Regions from separate parts of the Homo sapiens genome. Here regions 1, 2 and 4 are each linked to region 3. The links are contacts of gene promoters, found by promoter capture Hi-C in blood cells and fetal thymus (Javierre and others, 2016). All regions are on one chromosome and are shown on one strand. The core of a region is centred on a gene start or on the middle of the fragment in contact, and the rest is flanking DNA. Distances in the headings are between cores, read along the strand shown.

Region 1 (2,700 bases), core at 139-2,638, 430 kb after region 3:
ATAATGCTGGGAGCTTATCACATAGAAGGCATATGTGTTGTACTCAGTACATTCTGAATTATCTGGGTTTATTTTTATCTCTTGAATTCACTTATAAACAATTCAAAGGCTGCTTTTTTAGCTAACAGAAATAGGAAGAGAATCTCAGAATCTGTTTTGTCATTTTTTCAATGGGTTGAGTTATAGTGATTATGCTAACTCGGTGGAAAAGCAGTGTAGTGAGTAAACCCCACATACGGCATATCATGAACATTTTGTTGCTTTTTTGGCTTCTGACCATCTTCATACCTTTTTTTGTGTTAAAAGTCTCCCCATTGTGTATATCTTAGTAAGAGGCAGGTGGACCCTAGTTTCTACCTAAGAAAACCTGAAGATGGGGTTGGGGGCCTGTGGTGTACTTCCTTCTCATGCTGTCCATGACCACTGCAGTGGCTTTGTAAGGATCCAGGACCCAGGGCCCCTCAGTGGGTGTCTTCCATTTCTCAAGATTGCCTCTTGGTTGTGAGATGACGGTTGCTGCTCTAGTCATTGCATCCACTCCTCCAGGTAGGAAGAAAGAGGTCATAGGGGAAAGGCAAAATGGCACTTGACATCTTAACTTCTAGGCCCATTCAATATTTCCATTTCCATCTTCACACCCATCATCTTGTCCTAGGGAACAAACAGCACCAGCAGCTCAGTAGCTATAACAGCAATTATTATTTCTCACACATGGGTCTGGGTCAGCTGCAAGATGGGATTCAGATCTGTTCTCAAGCCTGTCGTTCCAGGACCCAGGAGGGAGAAGCAGCTGCCAGGGGAAGTCTCTTCGTAGGCGGAGGTCAGGAGTCCAAGAGGAGTGAGCAGAGTCACAGAAGCCTCTTAAAGCCTCTTCTTCCCCCATCCCATCAACACGTGAGCAAGCCCAGAGTCAGTGGGTGGGAGGTGTGCTCCGCCCATAGTCAGTAGAACAAGAGCAAGCTTGAAAGAGAACGATGAACAGGAGTGCACTCGGCCACTGTCTCCTTAGCCATAACGTAGTCCCATGGTCTGCTGGGAAGCGGGGAATAACTCTCCTTAGCTGAGCGCAGGGTCTCATTAGTAAGGCAGATGGAGAACATGGATGTTGGGGGACAACTGGCAGTGCCTGCCACAGGGGAATGGATATATTCCCTCCCCTTGCTCTCTGGAAACTAGGGGATGGCGATGAAGCCTAGGTTTGGCCAAACCCATTCTGCCTTCAGGGACTTTGACTCTTGAGGGACAGTGAGGGATTAGTCATGGTGGTGGCAGTTGAGTCACAAAACCAGCAGTGGTGGCTAATGTCCAGTGATGACATGCAACAGTGCCCAGGGTGGGTGTCCCAACCAGCAGGTCCCTGCAGTATAACCTTGGCTGTGTTTGCAGTGGTGCAGCCTCTATTCCTGCTGCTTTTCTGAGCCTAGTTCTCTAGTTCTCTCTCCATTTCCAGATCTGCTGCCCAAGAACTCCTTTGTGATTGAATTTAACCAGAGTTGATTTCTGTTGCTTGAAACTCAGGACCTTGATGCAGTGTGCAGGGTCTGGGCAAGGTAAAAACACACTTTCATGATTTCGCCTCAAGTATAGTAGATGAGCTTAGGCTTTTTGAGCCAGGTAGCCTTGGGATTAATTCTCAGCTCTTGCACCTAGCAGGTGACCTCAGCAATCAAGTCACTTGCCCTCCTTGAGCCTCAGTGTTGCCCTCAGTTAAACATTGCTCTCGTGTGTTGCTGAGCATTCAGTGAGATTGTATATAAAGTGATCATTGTGAAGGTATTGGGACATAATTTGGGAAAGCGTCCTGGTCTAAGCTTTTGATTGGCTCTCCATCATTTGGGTAATGGGATAGTGATTTAGGAGTATCATAGCAGCTCAAGGGGCCCTTCTGGAAAGGGTATGAGGAAGGTCAGGGACAAGTCTGAAATGAATCATCCTAGGCTTAATGCCTGTGACTGGGCAGTGGGTACAATTATCTCAGGCTAGTCAGTAGTCATTTATTGTGAGAATACATGGGCAGATTTTTTAATTTCCTTCTCAGTCTAGACTTGAATGCAAACAGTTCTTATTGCTAACTTACCACTAGTCACCACTAATGAACAAAGACTATGAACAGGAAATTCATAAAAGAAGAGATACAGATGGCCAATGAAGATAGGAAAAGAGTTCTGCCTGCTGGTAATCAAAGAGATGCAAACGAGAACAAAAATGATGCCTTTTCACCTACCAAATTTGTCAAGATTAAAAAGAAAGCAAAGAGCCAGCGTCAGCTGATGTTCATACCTGCACCTGCTCGGTAGCTTGCTAATGTTCTGCCTGCTCCACACGCCAGGCCAGCCTCCACGGCGCAGCCAGGTGAGGCCTTTCCTTGTATACAGGCACGTTTGGATTCACTGTTGCATAAGTGAGACATGTGCATGCTTCACAATTCAGGAAGTGCAAACTCCAGAGTGATGCAAGGTCTGAGTGTCCCTGCTGCCCTGGTCTCCCAGCTGCCTAGGCCTCTCTTCAGGGAACGGCTGCATCCAGGGTCTTGTCTGTGTCTTTTGAGGTGTTCTATGTACACGCAGACACATCTAAACCTATTTTTATTTTCCCTGCACCTGCTTGGGCTACTGTAAGCTGTTAAATTTTTTTTTCTAGGAATTTGTCCATTTTGTCTGACTAGCATAAAGTTGTTCATGTTATAGTTTATACATTTGC
Region 2 (2,700 bases), core at 24-2,523, 400 kb after region 3:
GCTTTGATGTGACATGTGACTCCCCAGAATACACCTTGCTTCTGTAGACCAGCTCCAACAGGATTCCATGGTAGCTGGGATGTTAGGGCTCAGGTAAGTAACCTTCCTTTTTTTTTTTTTAGTATATGTCCTGGTTTGGCCATCTGTTTTTTTTTTTTTTAAAAAAAAAAAAAAAAGGAAAAGAGGAAAAAAATATACTACTCTTGGACAGTATAAAAGTACCCCAAAGACTAAAGACATAACTGTGCCAAACTGTGCCATATAATAAAAAAAAGTCACTTCCCTGAGCCCTGAAAGGTCAGTGTGTGTAGGGTTACTTGGTCGCCACAGCGTGATCTGGGGGCGGGCGTCAGATTAGAGCCGGAACTGGTGATCTGCAACTTCAGTTCACCTTGAAGCAGGTCAGCTGAGCTGAGAGCGCTTGCACTGAGCCCTTTTGCGCTGCTGCTGTTGCCTTAGCGGTCTTCAGCATGTGTTTGCTTTGGTTTGGGGTAAATGGCTTAGTGGTCAACATTAGTGAGCAGTGGTAATGCATTTTCAGATATGGGAACTGGTATGTGGTTGGTTCCCTAGAAGGACACCCTCCTGAAAGCTGTCTCAGAACACCGGGGGCCATGGCTAATGTCATGTGCTTGCTACACTCCTCCCATGGTAACTAAAGAGAGTACCCAGATATACATCTGGTTCTTGGGACTCTAGAGGAGGATGAGTACTTTGTAAAAACCTGGGGGCCCCAGTCATTCTAGGTCTGACACTCAGGTGCTGTATCAGCTGCAGTTTGAACTACTTGGCACCATTGTGTGGACTTTAGTTTTGTAAAAATGAATGGTTCCTTAATTTCTCAACCTTCAGGCTCAACATCTCAAGCTGTTTGTTGTTGTTGTTGTTGTTGTTGTTTTGTTTTGTCTTTTTGATTAGTGGTCACTCCGCATTTGATGTTTTGACATGTGGATTTCAGAACTTCTGTGTGGTAAAGCAGAATGTTCCAATTGAATTTTCCCATTTTTTTTCCCCTAAGCAAAAATGTGAGTTTTCACTTATGCGGCCATTGTGATTCCGACTGAGACCCTAAGTCGTTCTTTGTTGTCTCTCTAGTGGTTTCTGACACCTCAGTGTGAAGCTGTTGTAGACATCCATAAGAAATAGCCTGCTTAGGGATTATGTGAGGGCAAGGTTTGGCTGAAGGAGAATAGAAGGTGTGGAAGGAAGCGGAAGACCAGAAGAGCATCACACTGCCTCAAGTCCCAAATTTGATTCTGCTCCTGATCCTGTGACTCAAATTGTCATTCTCTTTTACTGCTGTGGGGTGTGCTCTGGGCCCAGCTGACAGGACATTCTTTGTACTCCACGTATTTATGCTGGTGGGAGTTGTATGGCTAGTGCTTTGTGCTTTGTCTCAGAAATTGTGTGGACTAAATGTAATATGGGCAGTGAATGGGTTTCTTCTGGAAGATGTTAGGCCTGGAGGGTGGTTTGGGTTTTTACGAGTCTTTTTCTCAGATTACAGATTACGAATGGATGTTATAAAACAGGCAGTGTTGACACCATACAGTTTCTCCTAAGAAATGTACAGAGAGTTCAACCTGAGGAAGCTAATTGAAAATAAACTTTTAAAAAGAAATGTAGAAAGAGGAAATTTAAAAAGTATCTTATGAATGGGAAAGATGTAGCCATTTGAGCTTCAAAGAACTTTTGAGGGAATTCTCAAAGGACAGTACCCGTCTTTAGTAGATAAATGCTTGATATCTATTTTTCTTCTTTTACTTTTTAAAGAATTACTAAAATAATACATGGATTTATAGAAAAATCAAACCACTTAAAAATTGATCAGGTGGCTGGGCAAGGTGGCTCATGCCTGTAATCACAGCGCTTTGGGAGGCCTAGGCGGGTGGATCACCTGAAGTCAGGAGTTCGAGACCAGCCTGGCTAACACGGCGAAACCCCATCTCTATTAAAAATACAAAAATTAGCTGGCCATGGTGGCTTGAGCGTGTAGTCCCAGCTACTCGGAAGGCTGAGGCAGGAGAATCACTTGAACCTGGGAGGCGGAGGTTGCAGTGAGCCAAGATCACACCACTGAACTCCTGCCTGGGTGACAGAGTGAGACTCGGTCTCAAAAAAAAAAAAAAAAAAAAGTATCAGGTAAAAAAATGAAAGCTCCCCGCTTAATCTCTGCTCCCACTACCCAGAATAACTGCTGTTAATAGCTTAATGTAGATCCTTCTAAGTCTTCTAAGACTAAACTGTGTACTTTTTGTGTTGTAATTAACAGGAGGGTTTTTGTTTTGTTTTGTTTTTTCTTTTTTTGAGATGGAGTCTTGCTCTGTCATCCAGGCTGGAGTACAGTGGCACAATCTTGGCTCACTGCAACCTCCACCTCCTGGGTTCAAGTGATTCTCCTGCCTCAGCCTCCTGAGTAGCTGGGATTACAGGCGCCTGCCACCACACCCAGCTAATTTTTGTATTTTTAGTAGAGATGGGTTTCACCATGTTGGCCAGGCTGGTGTCGAACTCCTGACCTCAGGCGATCCACCTGCCTTGGCCTCCCAAAGTGCTGGGATTACAGGCGTGAGCCACCGTGCCTGGCCTCAGGATGGTGTTATATATACATATTCTGCATTTTTCCATCTCATATATTCATCTCTGCCTCATTTCTTTTAAATAGCAGTGTAGTCCAGGGCTGACTTACCGTCATGCATT
Region 3 (2,700 bases), core at 143-2,642:
CTAAAAAATATAAAAATTAGCCGGGTGGTAGTGGCGCACGCCTGTAATCCCAGCTACTCAGGAGGCTGAGGCAGGAGAATCGCTTGAATCCGGGAGGCGGAGGTTGCAGTCAGCCGAGCTTGTGCCACTGCACTCCAGCCTAGGCGACAGAGCGAGACCCTGTCTCAAAAATAAATAAATAAGTAATAAAAACAAATGTATATCATTCATTTGAAACATTAGAGACGTGGGTGGTTTTGTTCTGTTCTGTTTCCACATCTGCAACCATGCGTCTTGTGCACCTACCCGGGGCAAATACCTCCGACTCCATCACAGTCTTGACAAGAGGTTGAAGTGTGCAGATTGATTCCAGTTGCACCAATAAGCTTTGGGAACATATGATCCCCCCCCCCCCAACTCTGTACTGTCTTCTGTACTGCCTTCCGACCTTCTTTCTACACATTCCCATCATATTTTTCCCCAACTTTCTGCCTTCTTTCTCTTCCTTTACCACAAAGCCTCTGCACCTTGCTAGTGGCGCCAAAGTTTGGAAAAGCAGACAAGTCCACTTAATGTTCCACAGTATAGAAACTGGCCTACGCCGGGCGCAGTGGCTCACGCCTGTAATCCCAGAACTTTGCGAGGCCGAGGCGGGTGGCTCACGAGGTCAGGAGTTCGAGACCTACCTGGCCAACATGGTGAAACCCCGTCTCTACTAAAAATACAAAAATTAGCCGGGCGCGGGGGCGGACGCCTGTAATCTTAGCTACGCGGGAGGCTTAGAGAGGAGAATGGATTGAACCCGGGAGGCGGAGGTTGCAGGGAGGCGGAGGTTGCAGTGAGCCGAGATCGCGCCACTGCACTCCGGGCTGGGTGACAGAGCAAGACTCAGTCTCAGAAAATAAATACATAAAATAGAAATAGGCGCTCGGTCAATACTTGAACGAAAGGAGGAACTCCGCACAGAGCCTGGCGTCCAGGTCGGTCAAACTCAACCCTGGGGCCCCAGGGCTGGGCACCTTGAGCGGCAACGTGGCCAAAACCCTAACCCCGGGCACCCAGCCCTGCTAACGTCTAACCCTCTGTCCCATTGCCTTTAGAGGTCGCAGCGTAATCGGGAATGCCTGGGGCTCCCTCCCAGAGCGGGTCGCCCCAGCGATCACAACAGCTTCAGATGCGCTGCCAAGCGATTGGTCCAGGCAGCGCCAAGCGCCGACCAGCTCACCCGCACCGCGCCCGCGCCGGCGCGTCACTCCCAGAGACGTCACAACCGGTCGGAGCCCAGCGAGCAGCCGGAGTTGAGCTGGACGCTGAGGGGGGGGCGGGGCCCTGACGCGCGGGGCGGGGAAGGGAGGGGCTTCGGTGGGGCGGGGCCCTGACAGGCCGAGCTCGCGGGCGACTGCCGGCCAGGCAGACGCTGCAGCTAAGCTGCGCGGTGGCTGTGGCAGGTGAGAGCCTCCGGAAGGGAGGCGGCCTCTGGCCCCGACCCTGCTCCGCGATCGCCCACTCGGGCGCCCGGCCGGGCCTGGCAGGGAAGGGCCGCCGCCGCCGCCGCGCGTTTGCGAGGCCTGGCGGGGCCGCGGGGCCCAGGAATGGCGTAAGGGGCCCCCCCAGACTCCGAGACGGCCCGAGCGGGTCGCCGGCTGTGGGACGGCGGCGTGCCCTTCCTTTCCTCCCTCCCAGGTTCGCGCCCGAGCTCTGCTAGCCACCCGTCCGACAACTTCCGGACTCCCAGGTAGGGAGGAGCCCCTGTTAGCACTGCCAGTTACCCCGAACACTTGGCCGTTTTGGAAGGGCCGGGACTCCCTCCCCTGCCTTGTGGGTGCATCTGCTCAAACTCTGTCGGCCCCTCAAGCAGAAATGGTGTGGGATCTGGGCCAAACCCCTCTTGGAGTGACTCAGAGCCGCCAGCCCTACTGGAGGGATGGGGCATGGGGTGGATGGCCCCTAGCCTTTCCCTTCTGAGCTGGTTTGTATCACCCCGGTGGCTTCAGTCCTGGTGCCTTCATCTTAGCTCCTGTACTTTGCCTCTCCCACCCCACTGGTTTTCCTGCCTCCCTCTTCAGAGGTAAGACACATGGCTGGACCAAGGCCTCCAGGGTAAGTGACCCGAACTTCAAGCCAGCAGAGGCCATGTCATCCTAAGCTAGGGATAGGGGAGGCTCGCCGGGATGAGCCTTTGGCTTAACCTAACCTCTGCTCCCTACTTCTGCCTCACCCCAGTCTCAGATGACGGGAGGCCAATGCCAAAGACGGATAGGATCTATAGAGGCAGTCCTCTTCTAGGACTGGGACACAACAGTGCATGAGGCAACTGACAGGGGTGATGTAAAGCTGTTGTGTCTCCATCCTGGTTGCCCCAGTTCTAGCAGGTGATGTGACACTACGGTGGTCGCTGCCCAGATTGAGAAGTGGAAGGGGGTGTTGCTGGCCGCTAGAAACACTCATAATTCCACTGAGTTTGAGGCTCTGGTAGGGGCGCATGTGGGCATGGGAAGGAGCCCTGCACTCTGAGCACAGCCTCTCAGATGTAACGCAGTGGCTCTGGGAGGTCAAAGTCTCAGCCCAGTGGGAGCTCTGACAAAAGGAGGAGAAACCCCCCCAGTAGACATGTGGCTCTGTCTGATCCACTCCTGCCGCCCCTTCTGGCAACTTCCCTGGGGAGGGAGGACCTGCTTCCCAGCAGGACCTTCATCGAGTCACTGTAGGGGCAGGTAGAGT
Region 4 (2,700 bases), core at 73-2,572, 450 kb after region 3:
TGTTCACCTGGAGCTGTAGCCACCACCCTGCCCTTAGGTTAACTGCCTCGAGTGGTAGTTTAGCTCTTTGTGCTGTGCCGAGGGATAACTGGAAGTGAAAGGTGCTGAGAAATGCCATCTCCTGAAAGTGGCGAGCATGAGTGAATTTACGAAAGGTTGGGATATTGCTGGGGCTCTGGAAGTTTCTCTGGAGCTCACTCCAGGGGACAGGGAGGGGGCTGGATTCCAATTCAAGTGAAAAATACCTTTCATCTGCCTTGTTCACCTGGCTTTTTTGCCTTTTTGTAAAATCTGAAAACCTCAGGGATTGAGTAGTCTTTCCTTAACTGCAGTTGCCTGTCTGGCCACACCTGCCAGCTGTTGCTTGTACCCCTGTAATTTGCACGGCCTTCCGGGCCTTTCTCACAAGATCACTGCAGGTCACATTCATGAGGAAAATGCAGGCAGTTCCTGCCATCAGACCCCTCAGGATGTCATGGTTTGGCCTGAAAACAAGATTCCTGCAACTCTAATTTTCCTTTGCTAGATCAAATGAAGGATTTGATCTAATGTTTGCATTCTAGCAGCAAAATCATTGAATATTTTATTTCTTAAGAGCCTTACTTCATATTTTGTAGGTATTTTAAGATTTTGTAAAGGCCTTTCTGCTTCAACGTGTGATGTGTGCATTCTTAGAAAAAGATCTTGTGTTCTGTAAATCACACAATAAAAACATGAGTTCGTGCAGGAAAAACTGGGGCGGGGTGGATCACTCCAAACTTGTGTGGTGTGGTAACTGGAGCTCACTGATGAAACCATGAACAGTTCTGGCTGAAAGAACCCCACAGTACACTGAGGTCTGTTGGCATCGCCGCCAGCACCGCCCCGGTCCCTTTGTGCGCGCCACCACACCTGGCTAATTTTTTATTTTTAGTAGAGAGGGGGTTTCACCATGTTGGTCAGGATGGCCTCGAACTGACCTCGTGATCCGCCCACCTCAGCCTCCCAAAGTGCTGGGATTACAGGTGTGAGCCTCCGTGCCCAGCCTTCAGCTTTTTTTCTTAATGTCTTTGTGTAATATGAAGGCATTCTCTTTAATTGTTAAAAAGCTTGCCTACCACTGCTTCAAAATATTACTGTCAGTTGGCATAGCTTCTGATTATATTGATGTCATCTCCCTTCTTTTAAACATGTTACCATATTGGCACTGTATTTCCCCTAGCCCATTGATCACTTGAGAGTTAGTCATAGTCCTCGTGCTGTTTCACTCCTAAACGTTTAAGCATGCCTTTCCTAAGAGCAGACAGTACAGTTAAGACACTCAGGAAGTTTAGCAATGAGCTAACACAGAACCTTACATTTCTCCACATACCCCATAAATGCCTTTTTTAGAGCCTTTGAGCCTGGAATGCAGAGTCCAGGACTGTGTGTTGTATTCGATTGTGTCATCCCTTCAGTCTCCTTTATCAGAAATGTTCCCCCACCCCCTTGTTTTCTCTCATCATCTTGAGTCCAGACCGTGGTTGCATGGCACGCCCTCTCTGGACTCTTCCTGCTGTCTCCTCACGGTAAGCTTCAGTCTCCTACTCGTGATGCTGGTTCATCTCAGCAGCACTGAGGGGCCTGAGCTCAGTTTGGTCGTGTGTTAAGGTGGTGCCTGCCAGATTTCTCCACAGAAAAGGGCCCCGTACTTTTATTTGCTCTTCAGCCTGTGTATTCCTTCCTTTCTTGCCAGCTTGTGGGTGGCTTCTCTAGCAGCTTCTGTAAGATACTCAGTTTGGCAGTTGTAGTTGTTTCAGCAGGAGAGGTGTCTGCATACCTGACCACCACATGGCTAGAAGTCGATCCATCCTCTGGCGTAACCATCCTCCATGCTACTGTCCCTGGGGCACTGAGGCCCTCCTCAGTGACTTCCTCCACCTCATCTTCCGCCATCTCCAAGCCACCAGTGTCCAACGGACTACTGATATGTCCCAAACTCATCATTTGTTTATTCACCAATTCAGAGCCCACCTTTTTTTCAGCACTGAGCTAGCCTCTCCTTGCTAGAAGCTTACGGTCGAAGGTCTCCAGCCATCAGAAGAAGCACGTGGAGCGCTGCGTCCGTGTTGTGGTTATTCATCCAGCATGTGTTGAGTAAGGGTTGCACCTGTGCCTGGCATTATGCATTGAGCGGGGAGATGGGGGTTGGCACGCACAGTGGGGTGTTCTAAGTACACTGAGGGCTCGGGTGCCCTGGCTCATAGAGCAGGGAGGGAGGCAGGAGCAGGGAAGGTGTCTCAGAAGTGCCATCTTTTTTTTTTTTTTTTTGGGAAGTGGAATCTTGTTCTATCGCCTGGTCTGGAGTGCAATGGCACTATCTCAACTCACTGCAGCCTCCGCCTCCCAGGTTCAAGCGATTCTCATGCCTCAGTCCCCGAGTAGCTGGGACCACAGGCGCACACCACCACACCCGGCAAATATTTTGTATTTTTAGTAGAGGCGGAGTTTTGCCATGTTGGCCAGGCTGGTCTTAAACTCCTGGCCTCAAGTGATCTGCTCACCTCGGCCTCCTAAGGTGTTGGGATTACAGGCATGAGCCACTGCGCCCGGTCTAGAAGTGCCATCCTAACTGAACCTGAAAGATGAAAGTTCTCCAGATGAACCTGAAAGTTCTCCAAATGAAAAGGTGGGAGGGGGTGACAGGGTTAGGCCCAGAGCCTCTGGTGACACAGGGTGGGC

Evidence for each region. Contacts are between HindIII fragments. The CHiCAGO score rates a contact against its expected background, and 5 or more counts as called.
Region 1: a fragment that was not itself captured here is called in contact with the fragment with the promoter of SLC10A3 in region 3 in 1 of 17 cell types (monocytes); the score reaches 5.8 in monocytes.
Region 2: a contact is called between a fragment that was not itself captured here and the fragment with the promoter of SLC10A3 in region 3, in 4 of 17 cell types (total B cells, activated CD4 T cells, monocytes and 1 more). The highest score is 7.7, in total B cells.
Region 4: a contact is called between a fragment that was not itself captured here and the fragment with the promoter of SLC10A3 in region 3, in 2 of 17 cell types (naive CD4 T cells and naive CD8 T cells). The highest score is 5.6, in naive CD4 T cells.

What each region holds. Positions count from the first base shown.
Region 1 is chrX:154,056,593-154,059,292 of GRCh38, reverse strand. All of the region lies in intron 1 of MECP2 (methyl-CpG binding protein 2), which reads left to right. Among named protein-coding and RNA genes, the nearest start is that of MIR718, 38 kb to the right of the region's middle. The HindIII fragment of the contact is 851 bases long and covers 963-1,813 here.
Region 2 is chrX:154,089,577-154,092,276 of GRCh38, reverse strand. All of the region lies in intron 1 of MECP2 (methyl-CpG binding protein 2), which reads left to right. Among named protein-coding and RNA genes, the nearest start is that of MECP2, 6.8 kb to the left of the region's middle. The HindIII fragment of the contact is 6,480 bases long and covers 1-2,700 here.
Region 3 is chrX:154,489,321-154,492,020 of GRCh38, reverse strand. It overlaps SLC10A3 (solute carrier family 10 member 3), which reads left to right and starts at 1,392. Exons shown (of 2, transcript NM_019848.5): 1 at 1,392-1,714. RefSeq lists a silencer at 1,160-1,669. The HindIII fragment of the contact is 4,164 bases long and covers 368-2,700 here.
Region 4 is chrX:154,039,207-154,041,906 of GRCh38, reverse strand. The region is part of intron 1 of MECP2 (methyl-CpG binding protein 2); the gene reads left to right. Among named protein-coding and RNA genes, the nearest start is that of MIR718, 21 kb to the right of the region's middle. RefSeq lists an enhancer at 359-859. The HindIII fragment of the contact is 464 bases long and covers 1,091-1,554 here.